3 separate regions of the Homo sapiens genome follow, and regions 1 and 3 are each linked to region 2. Evidence: promoter capture Hi-C in human tissues and cell types (Jung and others, 2019). All regions are on one chromosome and are shown on one strand. Each heading gives the region's core, a stretch centred on a gene start or on the middle of the fragment in contact. The rest is flanking DNA. Distances are from core to core; before and after follow the strand shown.

Region 1 (2,700 bases), core at 190-2,689, 66 kb after region 2:
AATTAGCCAGGCATGGTGGTGCATGCCTGTAATCCCAGATATTCAGGAGGCTGAGGCAAGAGAATTGCTTGAACCCGGGATGCAGAGGTTGCAGCGAGCCAAGATCGTGCCACTGTACTCCAGCCTGGGCAACAAGAGCAAAACTCCATCTCAAAAAAAAAAAATTAGCCAGGTGTGGTGACACATGCCTGTAATCCCAGCTACTCAGGAGGCTGAGGCAGGAGAATTGCTTGAACCCAGGAGATGAAAACTGCAGTTAGCTAAGATCGCACCACTGCACTCCAGCCTAGGTGACAGAGGGAGATCCATCTCAAGAAAACCCCAGCAAAAAACCTAGTCTTCCTTCCAGAGGACATGGGCCCCTTCCCAACCTTGGTGTCTTACCCTGAAGTCCAGAGGTGGTTCTGCTGGAGGTGTGGGAGGGGAATATTTATAATGGCTAAGCCCAATCCTTACAGTCTTTGCTCTCCTCTGCATTGTAAATGTTCCTTTTGCTCATTTCAGACCTACATTTGGGAGCTGATCCGTCTTGCTCTCAGTTAGGGCCCAGCCCTTCTGTGGGGACCAGGAAAATCTTTGCTCACCTGGAGAAGCTGCTGGTTCAGCCCAACTTTATCTAACGCCAAAGCCTCATTTAAGGCACTGAGCTTGACAGCTGCAGCCCGAAGATCAGCTACTTCTGTCTTCAGGGTGTTTTCAGAACTCGACAGCTCTGCAATTGACTGCTCTGCCTAAAAAACAAAAAGGATTAAAGAGTTTCATATTTCCAATTTTCCTGGAACAGTAAACAGTTCACATTCCCAACACTGCTGCTTTTTGGTACAGAGATCAGTTAATACTCCATTCCCTCTCCTGCATTCTAAACAAGTTTTCCCTTCATTCATTCATTAAGGAGTGAGACAGGACCTCACAGTATAGAGATACCAAAGTTAGGATAGAGAAATGACTATGATTGTAATGATGCCACAGAAAATGTAAGCACAAAGTGCTCTGGGAACTAAAAAAAATATTAATATAGTTTGGAAGAGTCAAATATGCTTGGTAGAGGAGTTGACGATTAAGTTGTGTACTGAGAGATGAGGAACAGTTTGCACATAAAGGAAGAGGAAAGAAGTAGTGCAGAGAAAGGGAAAAGTACACGCAGAGTATTAGAGTCATGAAGAACATGGAATAACTGAGAAGGCAATTACTGCTGTGGCAGGAGCAAAGGATATGAGGTGTTAGGATGGGTTTTGCAGTAGAAGGGGAGGCTAAAACACACTTTGAGGCACATGACAAAAAGCTTTGAATGTGGCACCACAGAGCTAGAAAGCCGTTGAATGGTTTTAAGAGACTGACATAACCAGGTATATACTTTAGAAAGCCCATTCTAATTCCAATATAGAGGGTATGTTGGAATAGAGAACCCAGAAGCAGACTAATGATTGAGGAAAGATGAGGGATCCTGGCTTGAAGGTGAAGAATGAGGCAGGCTGCATGGGAACACACTTTCGAAGCCGCCCACCCAGCAAGTGAGGAGAGGAGGCCACGCACCCTAGCCAGCGCTGCGGTCACTTCCGTTTGCTCTTGCCTCAGTAACTCCCCTTCCAGGTGACTTGACTCCAGGGCTTCCCGAAGAGTGATCAGTTCACTGAGTGATTCTGACTGTTTGGCTTCCAGGCCCATCAGCATCTCCTGACTAAGATGGGAAAGAGAGGGGTCTAGAGGAACTCTTAGGGATGGGCCATAACCCCAAAGGTAACAGGAATATAATCACCTTTGCTATGCAACAGAATGAGGATGGTCTATAAACACTGATAAGGAAAGATTTCTAAGACATGTCAAGTGAAAAAAATCAAGGTGCAGAACAGTATATACATGATACACTACCTTTTATGCAAGAAAGTGGGGGAAGAAAGAATATATGCCCGTATTTGCATGAAGGAGCACTGGCAAGATAAACAAGAAGTCAGCTAAAATGGTTGCCTAAAGGGGGAAGGGAAATGGGATGGAGAAAGCACAAATGAGAGTGAGACTTCTCTGTGTATCTTCTTAGCTCACTGAAGCCTCAAACTCCTGGGGGCTCATGTGATCCTCCCATCTCACCTTGCCATGGCTACAGGCACATGCCACCACATTCAGCTACAGCTAATTTTTTGTTGTTAGGGGTTGTCTGCCCTTCTCCTTGGTACAGGGAGATCATTCTTAGCACAAGTCATGACCCTTATGGCAGCCCTTCAAGCTTCCACTATTCATGCCTACCAGGTACAAGGAACTGGGGCACAGGAGAGGAGGGAAATACAGCAAAGATGAAGATATATCCCTGCTCCCAGTTATTAAAGACCTACCATATGCCAGGTTCTATGCTGGCGTTTTCCAAAACATTGCTCTCATCTTCCCAGCAACCCTTCAAGGTAAATATTATCATCATTCTACAAATAATCTGTCCATGTGACAGAGCCATAATTTAAACTAAGCTTCTGCCTAGCTCAAAGTCCTTGCTTTTTCTGTGACATCATATAGGGGAATTTACAGATTAGCTGGGGCCATTGATTCTGGATTTCCCTTTCTTGACCAGCTAGCACATTTCCCACTACTTCCCTGTATAAGTCTTACCCTTTAGCCAGCCCAGCCTACTCTGAACATGCCATGAACCTTCCTGCCGCCTTTTCTTTGCTAATCTGTTCCTTGAGCTCTTCTCCCACTCTCTGCTAACCAAAT
Region 2 (2,700 bases), core at 54-2,553:
TGTGAACCCAGGCAATCTGACTTGAGAACCTAAATTCTCATTAAACCACCTGCATTCCAAAGGGGAAGAGCATTAAGGGCTGAATTAAGCCAATGGGCTGGGAAAGCAAACACTCAAAGAAGCCTGGGTCCATCTAGACAGTTCTACCAAGGCAAGAGCACATAAGACCTATCTTCAAACCTCTGGTATTCAAACTACCATCTGCAGGTATTGAGGACCTCTGAGAATAATAGCCAGGTAGATTACCTGACTCGATATGTATAGAGGATTTTAGCTCACTCTGACTCTTACTAGCTGGGGGACCCTAGGCAAGTCACTTGACTTCTCTAGCTCTTAGTTGTTTAATGTATCACTATGCCTGCCACAGTTCACTTGCTAGCAGATAGGCTTGGGTACATCCAGCTTTGGGATCTGAGACCCGGCCCCCTCCCCTGGTTACCATGCCGCTCAGCCTCTGAGCTCACGGGGATGCCATCTTTATCTAGTCGTTGCTTGAACAGGTTGTGTTCCACATCCAGCTGCTGTTCTCCGGCCACATCCATGGCATCAATACTCAGATCTGGAAGCAGGAAAATCAGGCTAAGGTACTGGGACCCTAGGGACAAGGGGATGTGGGTTTTGGAGGGGAAGGGGATACTGGGCCTGTCTTGGGGCAGAACGGGATGAGGAGAAGGAGGTTGTCCTGGGGTCCAGTCCAGAACCTAAGGGTGGAGGTGTGAATCTGGCAGCCCACATGAGAACCCTGGGTCTCTCCAGTCCCACCCATGGTGAGGTACTCACAGGCACAAGGCATGTGCGGAAAAAGTACATCGATGTTGATCTTCAGTTTATCTCCCCGCGACTTGTCCACGTAGAGCTCAGGATGCACCTGGGGCAGCGCTACCTCAGTAAGACTTAGCCCCAAACCTCTCCTTCCCCACTCCCACCCCTAAAGGTCCTACTCCTAGAATGCCAAGCCCCGCCCACGCACTAAGCCCCGCCCCTTACCTCCGTGGTGAGGTAATACTGCAGCTCGGACAGGAACAGTAGCAGCATGAGAAGGCCACTGACAATGGTCACTGCAGGACAAGGGGCGAGGGTCAGAATGGCCTCGAATCCGCTCCCTCAGACACCGGCAGGCCAGTCAGAGTCCAGGAGCCCGGGCTAAGCTCTAGGACGCCCCCCTCCACGCGACCCCGGCCCCGCTGCGGCCTACCGGTGGCGCCCCCGCAGGTCTTGACCCGGAAGTCCTCCAAAGTCTTGGGGTAGGCATCGAACTGCTTCAGCTTCCCCAGCGCCTCCATGGGGACCGGCCGGAAAGGGGACGCCAGCCGGCCCGCCCCTACAGACTCCCTCTTCCGGCCTGGAGCCACGCCCCCCTCTTTTTCCTCACGCAGGCGCAGCAAACCGCACGCTTGGCCCCACCTTTAGCCGCGTTCTCTTACAGGCGGCCCCGCCCAACGATGCTGCCACGCCCCCTTGCGCGGGCAATTGGGTCTGGAAGCTACTGCCCCGGCCTCCGCTGTCCGGGGCGGGATTTTGAGGACTGGGGTGCGAGGAGTTCTCTGCGGGGTTAGAAACGCTAATAGCACCGTTCGTGTGCCTTGTGCTCGGAACTGCACCAGGTGTTTAAGACTCTTGGAACATCTTGGAATATCCTGGAACAGTGGTTTTTCGAGTGTACCGGACCGGCCGCATCATTATCAACTGATTACCTATTAGAAATGCAAATAATTGATTCCCACCTACTGAAGCCGAAACGCTAGGAATGGCATCGGATGATTCTGATGTAAAGTAAGGGTGTCCGCCCTGAAAGCAGGTGTGACTTATCTCCGTTTTCCAAAGAGCAAACTGTGACCTGGAGAAGTTAAATAACTTGCCCAAGATCACAGCCAATTAATAGCAGGACCTGCTTCCAGCCCAGTTCTTCTGGACCTCAAAGTACTCTGGGAATCAGGGTCTTTTGGGTTGATTTTACCTAAACAGCGTCCCAGTGCTTCTCCTGAGCGCTGCTTTCTGAATATTACCCTAAATTGCTCTCCAGGCCCTGGGATCCTCACGGACACGCTCTATCCCTCCAGGTTTAGACTCAAGTGATATGGAGCTTAAGCTCTCCCTGACACTTCCCATTGCAGCCCAGTGTCTCTAGAGGGACAGCTCCCACAGTAATGCAGCTGCAATGAGTAAGATATAAAAGCTCATAGGCTTTCATACAGGAATTCCACTTTAGGAAGTAAAAGCACCATGTCAAGGTTAATAGAAAAATTTTGAAAAAGAAAAAATATGTAAGCAGCTATCCAAGGTTAACAGAAAAAAATTTTAATATAAGGATAAAAGTACCATGATCTGGGTGGTTGTTACACCTTAAGATATTGAATCTGTCTCTTAAAGATTTTAAGTGCACCACATCATAAAGATGTATGCATGAGATTGTTCAATGGCAAAAATCTGGAACCAGCCAGAATGCCCACTGATACATTAAATAAATTGAATAAATCACGATACACCCATTCTATGGAATATTAGGCCACTTTTCAAAAGAATGAGGTAGATTTACTCCTTTAGGTATACTAAGAATGTATTTTTAAGGGGGAAAAGATGCAAAGTAATGTGCATTCCATCATTCCATTTTTTAATTAAAAATTGGGCTGGGCACAATGGCTCACACCTGTAATCACAGCACTTTGGGAGACCGAGGAGGATCACATGAGGCCAGGAGTC
Region 3 (2,700 bases), core at 176-2,675, 100 kb before region 2:
CACACCTGTAATCCCAGCACTTTGGGAGGCCGAGGTGGGAGGATCGCTTGAGCCCAGGAATTGAGACTAGCGTGAGTAACATAGCAAGACCCTGTCTCAAAAAAAAAAAAAAAAAGCCTTGTCACTTAGAGTTTGTGCTTCATATCAAATGATAACAACCACATTGTGCTACACCACAAGTCACACAGTGGGAAGGATTTAAGAGGGTTAAATAGTTTTTTTGTTTCTTTTTTTTTTTTTTTTTTTTTTTTTTGAGATGGTCTTGCTCTGCTGCCCAGGCTGGAGTGCAGTGGTACAGTCAGCTCACTGTAACCTCGATGTCCTGGGCTCAAGCAATCCTGCTTCAGCCTCCTAAGTAGCTATTTTTTTTTTTTTTTAATTTTTTTGTAGAGATGAGGTAATTGCTGGGGTAGGGGTGATGGTGGAGTGGAGGGGTAGTTTCACTATGTGGCTCAGGCCGGTCTTGAACTCCGGGGCTCAAGTGATGCTCCCGCCTTGGCCTCTCAAAGTGCTGGGATTACAGGTGTGAGCCACTATGCCTGGCCTCAGTTTCTTAAAAGGTTTTAAATCACACCAACTGGTACCAGTGCCTCTGATTGCCTTGATTTTTCTGTGATCCCACTTGGAAGTTTGTTAATGCCACACTCCACTATACTCCACACATTAGATTGCAGTGGGGGCTGGAGAGTGGCCCAGCCTTTATACATAACTCCCTTCTGTGGTTTGGCCTGTGGGACCAGTAGGGTCCCTGTGCTGTAACTCTGACTGAAGTGATGGACATTAATGCAACTACTAATTACTGATGTAGATGAGCTGCTTTACTTCTATGACCATTGAATTGACAGATTGGAATTGGAAGCACCTGTCACCTTCAAGCTTTTAAGACAACTTCACATGAATGTACAGCTTAGCCATAGCTGTATCTCATACTAACAGATTTTTGCAGTGGTGTGCACCCAGCACTTATACTTTGGTGGAAAAGCAAAATAAGGTTCCTGTTCTTCAACAGTTGAGGGTTTTAAGTCACAACTAAGTGCTTGGTTGTGCTTATACTAGGTACATTCCTATACCACGGGAACCAGGTAGTGGCTTTCCTGGCCATTTGCTAAGTTATGGTTAGACAGGAACAAGTGTAAACTAGTCTTTGTCATAGTGTAGTTTCCTGTTGTTGAAATATTCCTTTGCTTTCTCGGCTTCCCTAACATGTAAATTCTGAAGACCCATCTTAAACTCTCCCCAGTGTCCCAAATGAATTTATTCCAGTGAAGGGTAAGGGGCTTGCATTATGAACAATAGGTAGGTTTCTTTTCCAAGAGCTCTGGTCTGCTTTTGTTCATTTACTCATCTCATTTTGTGCTGTAGGAGATATACACTCCTTTTGTGCACACTGTAGATGCACAGGTATTTGGTGATGCCTCAGTCCTGGAGATCATCAGGAAGGCGGTATAGTACTGTTGTCTCAGACACCCCACAGGTGATAGACATTAAAAGAATGTAGATTTCAGCCGGGAGGGATGGGGGCAGAATTGACTACCCTATAGATGTCCTTTGAAAATTTTGATACAGATCACATTTTTTAGAGGTGAGTTCTACCTTATTTGCACTATGCATGCTTGCTACTTAAAATTTATTCCTTTGATCAACTCCTGTAAATGTGGAGTCCAGGATTTCCTACCTTCCTTCCCCAGCAGTCAGACAAATAGGGAGAATTATATTCCATGTTTGTGCAAGGCTAACATTAGCATAGATCATGAGGGGAGACCATGTGAGTCTCACTGCTGTTGTAGTGGCAGGGTAGATTTCAGATTGGGGTGAATTACAAAATGTGAACTGTTGCTAAAATGGTTGGATATAGAAATAACATTCTCAGAATCGGTTCGTGGTTCCATCAGTTATGTGACTTAGGACAGATTATTTCCCTCTGGCCTCAGTGTTTCTTTTACAGTATGGGATTAAATTAGATAAGCTTGTGTCCAGTTTTAAGCTTCTGTGATTGTATGAACCTAGCCATTCGGTTTCTGGAAATCTGTACTGAGTTTGGACCTTAAACTAAAGTGACCAGGAATGGAGCTCCAAATTTTGATCTGGGTACTGCTCTCCTGGTTTCCCTAGTGTGGTAGTGATTCTACACTGCAGCTTGAGAAATTCAAAGGGGAAGAGTCTTCATCTCTCCTTTTGGGGGCTGTCCCTGTCCTGCTAGTTATATCCTGGAGCAGGTAGACCAGAGGCATTCCTCCTGGATCCACTCCTCCTTGGTCCAATTAACCAAGAAGGAGTTAATGATACTGCAGAAGGACCCAAAGGTGCACTTCCCTGTTTGTGAGCACCTACAGGGACAGTTGACACTGGGTACTTACTCTGTGCCGGGCAGGGGATACTTTCTATGACTGTCCTCATGTAATCCTCACAAATAACACTGTAAAGTTAACATTATCATCCCTACTTTACAGGTGGGGTAATCCAGGCAGAGAAAAATAATTAATAGTAAGGGGAAAACAAAGATGTTTTAATCATGGATGCTTGTATGACTCCTCAGGTAGAAACCCTCCCTCAACTATCCCCAGCCCCTCCCTGACTTTTAGGGAAAGTGGGAGGCCACTGGCAGCAGTCTTCTGTCATGGATTCTGAGCTGCTGGGGAAGGAGCCTTTTCAGTTTGCCAACTCCAACTATAGTGTGGAGGGCCCTTACCTATTGGTAGG

The links. Contacts are between HindIII fragments. The study calls those that stand out against the background at their distance.
Region 1: a fragment that was not itself captured here is called in contact with the fragment with the promoter of ERGIC3 in region 2 in 9 of the 25 tissues and cell types used here (H1 embryonic stem cells, IMR-90 fibroblasts, bladder and 6 more).
Region 3: a contact is called between a fragment that was not itself captured here and the fragment with the promoter of ERGIC3 in region 2, in 13 of the 25 tissues and cell types used here (H1 embryonic stem cells, adrenal gland, aorta and 10 more).

What each region holds. Positions count from the first base shown.
Region 1 is chr20:35,474,480-35,477,179 of GRCh38, reverse strand. It overlaps CEP250 (centrosomal protein 250), which reads right to left. Exons shown (of 35, transcript NM_007186.6): 15 at 1,534-1,678; 16 at 585-731. CEP250-AS1 (CEP250 antisense RNA 1) reads left to right here. Exons shown (of 3, transcript NR_184017.1): 3 at 505-2,700. Among named protein-coding and RNA genes, the nearest start is that of CEP250-AS1, 15 kb to the left of the region's middle. The HindIII fragment of the contact is 3,045 bases long and covers 1-2,700 here.
Region 2 is chr20:35,540,681-35,543,380 of GRCh38, reverse strand. It overlaps ERGIC3 (ERGIC and golgi 3), which reads right to left and starts at 1,303. Exons shown (of 13, transcript NM_015966.3): 1 at 1,196-1,303; 2 at 988-1,058; 3 at 781-868; 4 at 440-559. The coding sequence starts at 1,283. RefSeq lists an enhancer at 1,542-1,631. The HindIII fragment of the contact is 35,337 bases long and covers 1-2,700 here.
Region 3 is chr20:35,643,806-35,646,505 of GRCh38, reverse strand. All of the region lies in intron 1 of CPNE1 (copine 1), which reads left to right. Among named protein-coding and RNA genes, the nearest start is that of CPNE1, 20 kb to the left of the region's middle. The HindIII fragment of the contact is 5,383 bases long and covers 1-2,700 here.